Linked DNA regions of Homo sapiens: region 2 is linked to region 1. Evidence: promoter capture Hi-C in human tissues and cell types (Jung and others, 2019). All regions are on one chromosome and are shown on one strand. Each heading gives the region's core, a stretch centred on a gene start or on the middle of the fragment in contact. The rest is flanking DNA. Distances are from core to core; before and after follow the strand shown. Region 1 holds the start of PHF14 (PHD finger protein 14). Region 2 has its middle 340 kb from the start of PHF14.

Region 1 (6,546 bases), core at 1,599-4,098:
TTTGAAAAACTATAGATAACATAAGACTAAGTGGAAGACTGAAAGTTTTCTTCCTAAAGTCAGAAACAAGACAAAGAAGTCTTTCCCTCACCACATTTATTCAACAATGTTCTGCAGGTTCTAGGCAGAGCAATTAGGCAAGAAAAAGCAATAACAAGCATTCACAAAAGGGAGGGAAAAGTTCAAGCCCCTTCATTTAATATCATTTCCTGGAAGTTGCACGTACTGTTTCTGCTGACATGCAATTGGCCAGAACTTAACTGCATAACTCCAAGCAACATCAAGAAAGTTGGTATATTATGTCTTTATTCTTTGAAAACTTATGCCCAGTTAAAATTTGGAGCTTCCATTTTTGAAGAAAAAGGAGATAATGGGTATTGGGAAACAACCAGCAGTTCTTTCCATGTTTATTGAATGCAGGTCAAAAAAAGGAATTAGGTAATTTTTTTCTTTTCTTTTTACCCTACTTTTCTTCTTCCTTTTTCCCTCCCTCTCTTCCTTCCCTCCTTTTCTCCTTCTTTCCTTCTCTTACTTTCTTTCAATACATGAATTGCAAAAGATTAATAACCTAAATGCAATATTGTCTTCTGGATTGGATCTTGGAACAGAAAAAAGGACATTAGTAGGAAAATTAGTGAAATATAAATAAAGTGTTTAGTCAACAAAACTGTACTCATGTTAGTTTCTTAGTTTTGATAAATGTATTATGGTTATATAAGATACTGATATTAGTGGTAGCTAGGTGAAGGATGTACAAAAACTCAGTATTATTATTGCACTTTTTGGTAAATCTGAAATTACTTCAAAATTAAAAGTTAAAAAAAAATGATTGCTGATATCCAATGGCCACAGGTTTGGAAAACTAGAAAGAATTCTTATCCACTCTTGGTGGTATATATATTAGTACAGACTTTTTTTTTTTTTTTTTTGAGACGGAGTTTCACTCTTGTCACCCAGGCTGGAATGCAGTGGCGTGATCTCTGCTCACTGCAACCTCTGCCTCCCAGGTTCAAGTGATTCTCCTGCCTCAGCCTCCCAAGTAGCTGGAATTACAGGTATGTGCCACCACGCCCAGCTAATTTTTGTATTTTTAGTAGACACGGGGTTTCATCATGTTGGGCAGGCTGGTCTCGAACTCCCAACCTCAAGTGATCCACCCGCCTCAGCCTCCCAAAGTGTTGGGATTACAGGCGTGAGCCACCGCACCCGGCAGTACAGTTTTTCTAGAGCAACTAGGTGTTATTTATTAAAGTAAATGAATTAATACATTTTGATTCTGAAAATCTCCTTCTAGAAATTAGTTTTACATAAACACGAATGCCAGATTTTGAATTTCTCTTTTAGATGATTCAGCATAATTGCTCCAAATAAATCTAAAAGGCTATTGTCAAACAGTGGAATATTTGGATTTATAATTTCATAGATAAGACTATCAGTCCATGATATGGTTGGTGTTTAAAGTAGAATGGAAGTGAAATTCCCAGAGTGGAGTTTTTAAAATAACCAAGTTCCTAGGATTTTAACTGGAAGAATAAATATCTGAAAGGCAATGAGGAGTATTAAGCATGGGATGCCACTTCTGCACCTTGAGAAAATGAAGTATGGAAGGATGAGTGGTTTTCATTTGAGAGGGCTGCAGGGTAACTGTTTCTATTTCAGATGAGGAGGTAAAAAGAATGGGCATTGAAAAGGAAAAATGTTTACTAAGTAGGTTATACATTTTGGAATAGAAGTTTCTATAGCACAATAGAAAAGTTTGAGAGGTCACATGGCAATGATAGTTTGGGTGAGAGTGAGGCAGGAGAATAGGGTGTGGAGGCAGGGAACCTAAGGATGTGTCACTCCGACTTCCTAAGAACTAAATTGAAAGGAAACCCCTAACTTTCCATGCCTAAGTAACAAAAGGACCAGAGGCTACTCCCTTTGCAAACCCCCACTTTTTCTGCAGGGCAGATGGGAAATTGGCTGTGGGCAGCAAATCAGACTGATTGCAGGAGAGTCTTCCTTTGCATAGAAGTATCACTTTGTAACTTCACCATCTGCAAGAAATCAAACTGATTGCAGGGGAAATCTTCCTTTGCATAGAGGTATACCACTTTGTAACTTCACCCTAGCCTCTGATTGATTGCTTTTTGCACCAATGTTTGCACAGGAGCATGACCTTTGTAACTTCACTTCAGCCTCTGGTTGGCTGCTTTCTGCAACCAATCAGACTGATTGCGCGTTACTTCATTTACATGAGGTGAGCATTAGGTGGCCAATAGGAAGCTTCTAGAGGGTATTTGGACTCAAGATTCTGTATCCGGGCCCTTGAGCCGCTGCTCAGGTCGCTTCCGTACAGAGCGTGCTTTAATTTTCAATAAGTCCCTGCTTTTGTTGTTTTGTTGCTTCATTCTTTCTTTGCTTTGCTGGGCGTTTTGTCCAATTCTTTGTTAAAAACGCCAAGAACCTGGACAACTTGCAGTCACGATCCTCTACCGGTGACAATATCATTTAAATATTGGTAGTGGCTTAAGGTAGCAAACATCCCTTTGTGGAACGTTTACTCAGTAAATCCTTAAAAAACAGATCAGAAACAAAAACTGGCCTCCCAGGGATTTGGACTCAGGAGGTGAATTAGGCGCGGAGAGGGCGGAGCCTTTGGGGTTTATGGGCGGAATTGCACAGGGTTTGGCGGGGATCTCTGCTCCGCCTTGGCACTACTCGGCTCCGCTCGCCTCCGCGCGGCTCCCTGGGCTTTCACTCGGCTCTGTTCGGCTCCTGCTCGGGAAGGGTGCGCGGGGGCGAGTCCTGCGCATGCGCCCTCAATTCCTGCTGCTCTCAGGGCTGCGCTCAGCCTCGTGTTTTCACTTCCTTTTCAGAGCTGTATCCGGGTCGCTGCTTTCCCTATTGTCTGAGGCAGCCGCCCTCGCGCTGTGCAATTTCTGGTCTTTCGTTGCTTCTGGTCCAGGCTAATAAAGTTTTTCTTTCTTTAATTTTTTTTCTTCTAGTTTTAACGGGAGAAATTAACTCCCCGGGGCCGCCGGGTTGACTGCGCTGCCTGGGCCGGAGGTCTTCTCCGGCCAGGGAGCGCTGTGGGAAGGGGCTCGAGCGGCCAGGGCCAGGCGAGGCCGGGGGGGCGGGGGGTTAGGGGACCGCGGGGCTACTCTTGGGAGCGCCCCTGTCCGGCTGGCTGCGCGCCGGTTTTAAATAGCATCTTTCGGACTTGTCTTCGCGGCCCCAGTCCCCGACCTCGGCGCTGCCTGGGCTCCTGCAGCCTCTCCCTAAGTCTTCTCCAAACGACCACCTCACGGATTCCTTAGTAAGTGTATCCGAGGCCTCTGCGGCGAGAGGTCCATTTCAGCCATTCTAGAAGTCAGGGCCGGTGGGAGCAGGGCAGGGGTGGGAGAGTCCTGCGGGAAAGCAGGATTGGTGGACCCTCGCCCTCCATGGTCCGCGGGAATGAAGCCCGCTTGTTTTATTCCCTGATTTTTGCCGTTTTTATTGACTGTTACGATGTCTAAGTGGGGGATTACGAGGAAGGTGCAGAAACATCTCGAAAAGATGAGCAAGAGGGTCAGCTTCGATTTTAGCTGGTCTGAGTTGGCGTTGGCAGCATCAGGGCTGGAGCTGCCTTTGAAACTGCCCGTGGAGCTGTCCAGCCCTCCCCACCCTGCTTCTGCACCCCAACCTTCTCCTGACCCCTTTTGCTGAGAACTCAGTTAGACAAAAATTCCTTGTGCGAGGTCATCTTTATGTTCTCTTAGCACCACAACTCTCCCCTGTGTTTGGTGTGATTATGAATGACAATGTAATTTTTTTCTCTTCACAGTGGATCGCAGCTCCAAGAGGAGGCAGGTGAAGCCTTTGGCAGCTTCTCTGCTGGAAGCTCTTGATTATGATAGTTCAGATGACAGTGATTTTAAAGTTGGAGATGCCTCAGGTAAATATTTCCTTCTCTCTTCCCCTTTCCCAGCTTTCTGGAGTTAGGCTTATTTTTAGACTTTTTAAATCGGTTTTGATTAAAATGCCAATTTTAAGTGAAAGCACGTAAACTTCATTTATTTTGTCCATTTGATTTCCCATTTTGCCTTTAGATCCTGTCACTAGACCTATAATTGCTTCTGTTTTCCTCAGAGATAATTAGCAGTCAGGGGAAGGACTTTTTCCAAAGATGCAAAAGGATTTCTCTGTTTTACACCTTAAAATATATTTATGCTTATATTATAGAGGAAAAAACTGAAAGATATCCCGAAGTAGAAAAGTATCCTGAGAGGTGTGTGGACCATTAATAGTCCCTGAGCAGGGTTCTTCTTTTTTCAGATCACTTGACAATCTCTTAGGGGAGTTTTGCTTTTTTTGTGTATTAGCTCTTTTACTAGAATAAAATTGACCAGAGTAAGAGTTGCACTTCAAATTATAGTAGGTGCTGGACCTTGTGGATTGGGCCTTTCAGATGTCTCTGAAGTATAAGTCATGCATGCTTGCTCACTATATTTAGTAATTTTAAAAACTTTTTTTAAAGGTCGTATATTCACATTGTACTAAACTGGAAAACAGAAAAGTATGATTTTCCTTTGTATTTTCTGTTCAGTGTACCTTATGTATATATACAGTTTCAATTGAAGGAATCTGAGAAACAAAAATTATGTTTAATTTAAATGTTTTATGGGAAAAATACTGATAAACATGAACAATGAAAATTATGTGTAATTCCACCTCTTTTGAAAATTTTAATAAAGTGAGATGAAAATTTAAATAAAATGAGAAGTAAAAGCCTTTCCAGTTTCATCTCTTCAACAGTTTTTAAATATACTTCCAGAGAGTTTGCCGTGGTTAGTCACATCTCTCCTTCTTCTGGTTTTCCCTTGTCTTTTTCCTGCTAGGGATAGTAGGAAGGGATGAACGAAATTATATTACTGTTGCTACTTTTAGTAGCATCAACAGCAGAATTTGCATTGTGATTTACTGATAACTTTTTGTTTGCATAATCTCACTTAATTTTCACAGTAACTTAGTGAAGGAGATACCATTTTACAGGTAACAGGGGTATTGAGTTTAAAGAACTGGCATGAGGTCACTCAGGCAGTAACGGATCCAATGGATTTGACTTCAGAATTTAGTCTGTTTATCTGCTTGGATCCCAAGAGTTGATGGACGGAATCTTAAACAGAAACTGACTATTTGGTTACTAATTGAATTCATCCGCAGCAATCAAAAATTGATAAGTTTATCTTGATTAACTGTTTTTTTATCCTTTGCTTCTCAGCTCTTTATCTCCCATTTAGTTGGTTTGCTGATATTTGGTATTTCCAAAGAAGGGAAGGGGAAGGGAAAGGAGGTAAAATTTAAATCTTAGTTCTCTTGGTAAAGACCTTGGCAGATAAGAATATTCCTGGCTAGGATGTAGTTTTGGTTTGTTATGGTTGTGGTTGTAAACTTTGACAAACATAGTTGGGTCGTGGAAGTTACGAATTCTTTGAATATGGGAACAATTCTAAAACTTACATTAAGTATTACATTATTATGTGACAATAAATCTTGACTTTATGGACAATTTGTTTCCAAGGTTTGTTCATTGAGATGGAATATTCACAGGTATCACTTCTTTTTCAAGTGGTAAAACAATCTGATACAAACATAAAGTACTTTCTCAAAATATTTTATGATATCGAGCTAAGTAGAGATTTCTGACCTTGTTAAATCCTAATTATAGTTGAAGAGAACTGTTATTTGTGAAAAATGATAGGATGAGTTTTGTTAGGTTGATATATCTATATATCCCTTAAACACACTAAAAATATTTACTTTCTGTTCCCTCTTGTAATATAATATCTAGTATGCTGCACTCATAATTTACCTTCCTGGCCCCCTGGGGAGCTTAAATTTGTGATCTGTGGTCTCAGGTCACAAATTTGTATGTATAGTTCTTGGTATTTATTGTAAAAGGGAATTTAGAAGAAAATGATTGTATTTAAAATGATTAGTAGTCAACAGAAATTGAATCATATTTTTGACTCTTGTTTTAGGTGCATTGATGCTCTGCATAGCTGAGATATTCGCTTACTCTAGATTACCATTGTTTTCCATTTGAATCTTTTCTGTGCCTGAGATAGTATATATTTAGTTGGAGTCTTGTAGAGAATAAGACATTAGTCCTATCACTGGTTTCCAAACATGTTGAAGTTGTGGATTCCCAGCCCTACTTACGAATAGGAGATTAAATTGGAAGTAGAGAAATGGTAGCTAAACATCTGTCTGATCATATCTTCTTTCAAAACAACTTCTAGAAATGACTCATTGAATGAACTACGGACTTCCTTAGAACTTAATATTAAAGTGGTTAGATTCGTTGGCCTTAATTTTGGCTAACTGGATTCCGTGGATCAATTTCTTCTTACCTTCATCTTGAAATCTGAAATTCTGACTATAAAACTTTTTATATTTCTGTTTGGTTTTAAGAATAAATATAGAAAACATTTGCAGATAAACATAATTTAACTCTATCATAAAATAGAAACAAATCAACATTGGTAAAGAATGACCCACCCATAAGATTGGCAAGTG
Region 2 (6,871 bases), core at 1,410-3,909, 340 kb after region 1:
GAGTAGTCAGATGTTTTATTTTTAGGTGAAACCAAATAGCGTGACTCTGATTAGTTGCTGCAAGTTTCAAATTCTGATAACCTCATTCGAACCAGGGACTCATGTGGGCTTTTGGTGGATGGGGAATCTGGCTGTTTATATTCTTCTTGACACAATCCGCGAGTGCTGGATTCCAACAATCACAGACAATTCTGCTCTCCATGTATTGTGATAAGTAGAGCAGTTTATACAATTCCAATACATTCTATAAATGGTTTTTCTTATATAATGGGCTTTACTCTTTTTGGTGACATAATCAGATAGGTAAATAATAGCAGTTAGAGCAGAATGAAATGGTGTAGCCAAGGGCAGAACTTACTATTACTCTTAGCATTCTATCCCACTAGAGTTAAAAAGCTTTAAAACAAGTGGTTTTTTTGTTTTTGTTTTTCTTTTTGCACTTATTTAAAATTCTTCTAGTAACAAAAAAAGTCATGTTAAGGTGCATAAGGTTATGTTTTGCATATATTCAAGAGCCTTAAATATATACTAAGAGGCAAATGAGGGAGGGAACATTTTGTGTTCAGTATAAGCAAAATTCTTAGTGTTCTGTATCTGGAGTCTTGGTTAGTAGCTGACATTTCTGATGAAGGACAGGAAATTGGAATCTAATAGATCTACTCTACTTTGCTACAACCTGTTAGCAAATGTTGCCTCAGCCTATCTGTCTGTCATCTGCTTTTTCTCTCCTTAACTTGGGCATTAGGTATATGTAAATCATAGTCTCAGGCCCTTCTTAATAATGTGGCAATGGCTCTTTTCTTTATTCGTGTTTTTCTTCAAAAATAATAACCACTTTTCTTTTTCTTTTCTTTTCTTTTTTTTTTGAGACAGTCTCACTTTGTCATCCAGGCTGGAGTGTAGTGGCACGATATCAGCTCACTGCAACCTCCACCTCCCAGGTTCAAGTGATTCTCCCACCTCAACCTCCTGAGTAGCTGGCATTACAGGTGTGCACCACCACACCAAGCTGATTTTTATATTTTTAGTAGAGACAGAGTTTCACTGTGTTGTCCAGGCTGGTCTTGAACTCCTGACCTCAAGTGATCCACTCACCTTGGCCTCCCAAAGCCCTGTGATTACAGTCGTGAGCTATGGCGCCTGGCTCGCTTTTCAGTATGTAACACTTCTGTCCTTTAATTGTCACAACAATAGCTTATGGTGATCATTGTATGTGGTACAGTTGTCCCCCCTTATCCACAGGGGATGTATTCTGAATCTCCCAGTGGAGTGGATACCTGAAACTGCCGATAATGCCAAACCCTTTTGTCTTCACAATTTCACAGATAGAAGGCTGGTTCTTACCATAAATCTTAGCCACCTCAGCATGCGATTTTTGTCTTTCCTTATTAAGTCGAGAACTTTCACCTTTTACCTTAAAGGAAACACTTTATGGCTTCTCTTTGAAAGATCTAAGTAGCCAGCATCACTACTCCTGTGCTTTGGGACCATTATGAAGTAAAGCACTGCAATACTGAGACAGTCGATCTGATCATCAATAGGGCTACTAAGTAACTCACAGCTGGGTAGCATACACAGTGAGGAGACGCTGCACACAGCAATGATTCCCATCCCCAGTGGGATGGGGTGGGATCCAGCATGCTACTCAGAATGGCAGGCAAAGTACAACTTAGACATTACCTCTGAAATTTTCCATTTAGTATTTTCGGGCCAGGAATATTGTCCACAAAAGTTAACCATAAGTAACTGAAACCGCAAAAAGGGAAACCATAGTTAAGGAGAGCCCACTGTATTATTGCCATTTTTCAGAGGTTTAGGAACTGTTAAGATTTGAAGCCTAGAATGTCCAACACTAGAGTGCCCTAAAATCTGTAAGCTCTTTTTGCTGTTGTTAATATTGCATGGCTCTCTGTGCCAGCCAGATTGAATGACCTCCAGAAATTAAGTGAGCCAGTGCCCAAGATGCCAGACCAATTGGCTTGGTTTCCAGACTTGGTTGAGCCCAGCTGCTCACCCTCTACCCTGGGGGTGGCGGACAATAACTAAAAGAGAAACATCTGATTCCTGTCTGGAGCTCTCTCCCTCTTTCCTATAGCACTGGCTGTTTAGGAATAGGGATTCTATCTTCTGGTGTAGTTTTATGTCTGGCACAGTGTTCTGGTAACTATGGAATGCAATATTTGTAGAAAAAGAGGAAGAACAATTTACCTATCTGTAGTGCTCAGATCATTCATCCAAGAGTAAGTAATGCCTAATTGCATGAAGACTGCCACAAGGAAGAACTAAATCACATACACACATGATGCCAAAGAGTAAAGATAGTAGCAATACATAATATTTAATTAAATGCACCATTCAGTGTTTTTGCCCTGCCCTAAAGTTTATGTGTTGATAAAAATGACTTTCTGATATTGGGAGTTCATTTCAGAAAATACTCTTATATTTTGAGAATATTTTCCATTTGGTTAATGAGGTGGTAATACATGTAAAAGAAATTAAGAAAACCTCATTAAGGGATCCAAAAGAGTAATATTTTACAAAGAGTAATACCATCAAATAGTATCATCTCAGCGTTGAACATCTCAGATGTTTCAGTGTCCTCTCCTATGTGTGAATTCCCTCTACAACATCCTGAATGCACTATCTCCAGCCTCTACCCTGATCCAAACATGGACAAAAACAATTTTTTTTACAACCACAAATTAAAGTCTTGGACAGCTGTAATTCTTACACCCTTTCCTAATACTGAATTGAAATATGCTTTCTCTAGTTTTCACCATGCTGGTAGTCCTCTTTTTTCTTTTCTCTACTTTTTTCGCTCTCGCTCTCTCTCTGTCTCTCTCTCTCTTGTAAAACTGCTCTAAATTTGCTGGGTTGGAATCTAAAGTTGAATTGAAAAATTGATATGTAGTGTAAGACATAGCATTTAAACATACTCTATGAGTGGTCGTTTAAATTGGACCTTTAAAAAAATGCGAAAGGGGTAAAGAATAAAAACACTTAATTTTCTCTCATTTGTTTTATTTTTAAGCATCTCCATTGCACTATTTCACTCATCTAAGTGAAATCAAGATCTTGGTTTTGGACTAAACTGGAATTCAAATGTGTATGAGCATCTTTGTTATTTAGTTGCGTGGGTTCATGAGGAGTTTATTTTGATTTTTTAAAAATTGAGGGGCTCTGGATTTTTTCTGTGCACCTGAAACAAGAGTTGAGATGAAGAGGGCAGCGTGTGTCTGCCCACCACACTGTCTCTGCTTGAGGCTATAGACTTGCAGCCAGAAAGCAGAGGAACACTTCACAAAGAACTCCGTGAGATATGAGAAAAGTGAGTCCTCTGGCTTTACTGCAGGTTATAAGCTGTAACCTGAGTCAGGGAGAGAGACATTCTCCCAGGAGTCTCTGTGAGTCTCTGAGGGTTTGTTGTCCTGGGAAGATTTTGGCAGTGACGCTTTTGATGTGAAAAATTTGCACTGAAGGGAGGGAAACAGGCAAAGAAGACTTCATTTAAGACTCTTGCAATAGGGAAGATAAATAGAATACAATTCTGCTGAAACAAGAGGTGGGAAGACTTTTAAATGCCAGGCTGGGCTAGTAGAAAAGTTCTTAAAAAGTTATTAGGGGAGAGGCTGGTCATGTGATTAGGCCATCTGTTTTGGCTAATTGCCACTTATGGAAGTTAGGTTTCTACCCTCCCACAGAGACTGGGAGAAAAGAGTGCTATCTTTCTTGATGATTGCATTTCAAAGAGATGGCTCTCAGGTCCTTGAGACAGACATCACTGGACTGTGAAGCAAGAGACTAGAAGATTGACATCTCAAAGTGAAAGAGTAAAAATTTGCATCTGTAAGCTTTGTAAAGTAAATGTTCTAAAAAAGGGGAGGTCAGGGGCTTATACATTCAGGAAGAAGCCTGTCAAAAGTTTAGTCAAGCTGAAGGGAACCTTAAGAAGGTCTTGATCAAACAAGGGTATTCTCCTGTGGCTGTAGCAGTGGCACTGAGAGGCACAGTCTTCGAGTGTTTTGGAAGCAGTGGGTGTCACTGAAAAGCTAAGACACTGTGAGAAAATAACTCACGAGATACTTCCGGATCTCCTGGAAGCTCTTGGAGAGGTTTGCAAAAGTCTGAAAGTGTGTGCAATATAGGTAGGGGCAAGACCAGTGAAATTTGGGTCATCACCACTAATGTGATCCCATAGCCAGCCAGTGACTGGCAAGACCGAAGAAATACAGAGTATGGAGGTGAAATATTTCAACCTGACTTGGAACATGTTATACCCTTCAGTCCACGGGTGCACGTACTGTGACATTTTGCTGCTTTGTCCTTCATAAAAACAAGTGCTGTGGTAGCATGAAAATAACACTAGACAGACAGCTAAAAGACCTGAGTTTGTTTTTCTTTCTACCGGTTACTAGCTAAACTGACTTGGATGAGGCACCATCCCTCCTGGACTTCCTTATGGGGAATTGGGATAATACATCTACTTCACAGGGTTGTTATCAGGATTAAATCAATATACATGCCATCCTTTGCAAAGCACTATGAATGACAGATTAGAGGCTTTTCTTTTGATTTTTACCCATTACTTAACCAGTAGCCTTAATGTGACCTCAATTGTGTCTCTTTAGGACGGTGGTAACTTTTCATATTCAGATTATTCCTTCTGTGTACCTTTTGGGAAACTTTATTCCAATTCCCATTCATTTAAATGGTATATAATGTTTTAAATTGAACTTTTATCTCTATTTCATCTGTCTTTATTTTTTTTTTGTCTTGGACTTGGACTTCCTTTCTACAACTCTATCTCTTGGAGAACTTTTGTGATAAAATGGAGGTCAGTAGGAACCTTGACCCCACGCTTCTGTCTGAATACACATGTAACTGCTGCATTTGCTCACCACCACCAAAATGCTTCAGTGTTTGGTCAGTGGTTTTTAAGTTCGAAATGTATGCATCTGTTCAAATCTGTGTAAATTGTACTCTCTAGCCGTAAGTTGCTTGATATCAGTATCTATCTATATATAATCAAACAATTATGTTTGTAGAATATCTAAAGAAGATGCCAGAAAAATTTTGTACCCTTTGATAGAAAGTGTGGGTGTTGATTAAAAAAAAAGAAGAAATAAATCCACATTTAATGGGATAGTTAAACATCTGTTTACCAGAAAAAAATTAATTTCCAACTATAAAGGAATTGCTTATTTTTCCATTAAATCCTCAGAACAAACAAATAACAATTTTGAGAGGGCAATCTAAAGATGCAGTCGTGGTTACTTTGGTATTTGACCCTTTTTCTGTAGTAATTTAGTCTGAACAAGACCAAAGTGTGTGCTACTCTTTGGCTTTATAGCCCTCTAACCATAGGCGCTGATGGCATTCACGATTATGGATTAAATAGGGCCAACCCTTGTCAGTAATTTGTTAAAAAATTCCCACAGAGATACCTATGGTGCTGCTGAACAATGATGTTGGTAGTGTGCTATTTTGCTTTAGGAAAAGCTACTGCATTCCAACATGGGGTTCAATGGCTGGTCCTGGAAACCTCGTCTCTGTTTGATATAAGTTAAACCTTGAGTACACTCTGCCTGGTACTGAAATTAACATCTGGGTCCTGACCAAATTCTAACTTGTGAAATTGCAGATTACTTTACGACTGGATAAGAAATGTACTCCATCATATCTTAGCTTTGTTATTTAATTTTGCCTGGGGTTGTTAAATCACTGTAGCATTTTGCCACTGTGTGCAACCAGTGGGCTTTTAGAAATTTTAGCATGAAAGGCTCTCAAGAAAACATGAAACTCTTTTAACATAAGGTTATCTCCAGGAGGCTACTTTTTGGTTTAGTTATGTGATTGTATTTGAACAAATAGATTTTCTTTAGTTCTACTTAGTGTTCTTTTTTAAACTGATGGACTTTCACAATAGGTTTTCAGGTCTTGGCTTTTCAGTTTCATTTTTGGGGGTGTGGAAGTTTCAGAGTGAGATACAAACTGATTTGTGAGATGAAAAATATTAAAGATATGATCATTTGACAGTAATTTGGTGATCTGATTTTTTTCTGGAAATAACAAAGCTAATATTCTTAAGTGAGCGAAAAAATTTTTGAGGACAGCTACTGGATAGTTGAATATTTTATCCATTAATGAAATTGTTCACATTTTGAAGAGATTATTAACTGTGGTGCAATTGGATTCTTTGTGAAGTGGCAGCAAAAGGCTTCTTGGTTTACACCAGGGTCAGCAAACTACACCTTGCAGGCCACATCAGGTCTACCACTTGTTTTGTAAATAAAGTTTTACCGGGGCATAGTCATGCCCATTTGTTTATGTGTTTTCTGTGTCTGCTTTTGTAAGAGACTATATGGACTTTAAAGCCTAAAATATTTAGTATCTGTCCCTTTCTAGAACAAGTTTGCTTACCTCTGCTTTACATCATTAACTTGATCCTGTGGAGTCAGAGCTGGCTGTGCACATCCTCTAAACCAAGGGAGAAACAAATTACATATTTGAGAAACAATGCTAAGATTTTCCCATCCCTTGGACTCTGGCTAGACATTTGTGGCAACCACAAGCTTCACTTTCTCTTTTCTCCCTTTCTCAAGGTGCTTTTATCTGTGACTGCGGCACCAGCAGTTTGGGTTTGGTAGACTATAATATTGGATTGGTGGTGTGTATTTTTACATAAAGCCTTGGAGTTATTTTATTTTATTTTTTTGCAGAGATGGCTTCACATTTTAGACTACATGTTTATAACTGCCCTTGTGCTATAGTTGCTCTTATGCTGTAAAGCATGACAGCATACTTTTATCTTTTAACATTGGCCAAAACTGGTCACACAACCATTACTAAACCATTACTGTAGATTAATAAG

What was found. Contacts are between HindIII fragments. The study calls those that stand out against the background at their distance.
Region 2: a fragment that was not itself captured here is called in contact with the fragment with the promoter of PHF14 in region 1 in 1 of the 25 tissues and cell types used here (H1 embryonic stem cells).

Annotation. Positions count from the first base shown.
Region 1 is chr7:10,971,024-10,977,569 of GRCh38, forward strand. PHF14 (PHD finger protein 14) reads left to right here and starts at 2,849. Exons shown (of 18, transcript NM_001007157.2): 1 at 2,849-3,301; 2 at 3,812-3,922. The coding sequence starts at 3,301. RefSeq lists silencers at 2,044-2,093, 2,604-2,663, 3,644-3,693 and an enhancer at 2,619-2,913. The HindIII fragment of the contact is 9,763 bases long and covers 1-6,546 here.
Region 2 is chr7:11,312,049-11,318,919 of GRCh38, forward strand. No RefSeq gene overlaps it. Among named protein-coding and RNA genes, the nearest start is that of PHF14, 340 kb to the left of the region's middle. The HindIII fragment of the contact is 5,103 bases long and covers 109-5,211 here.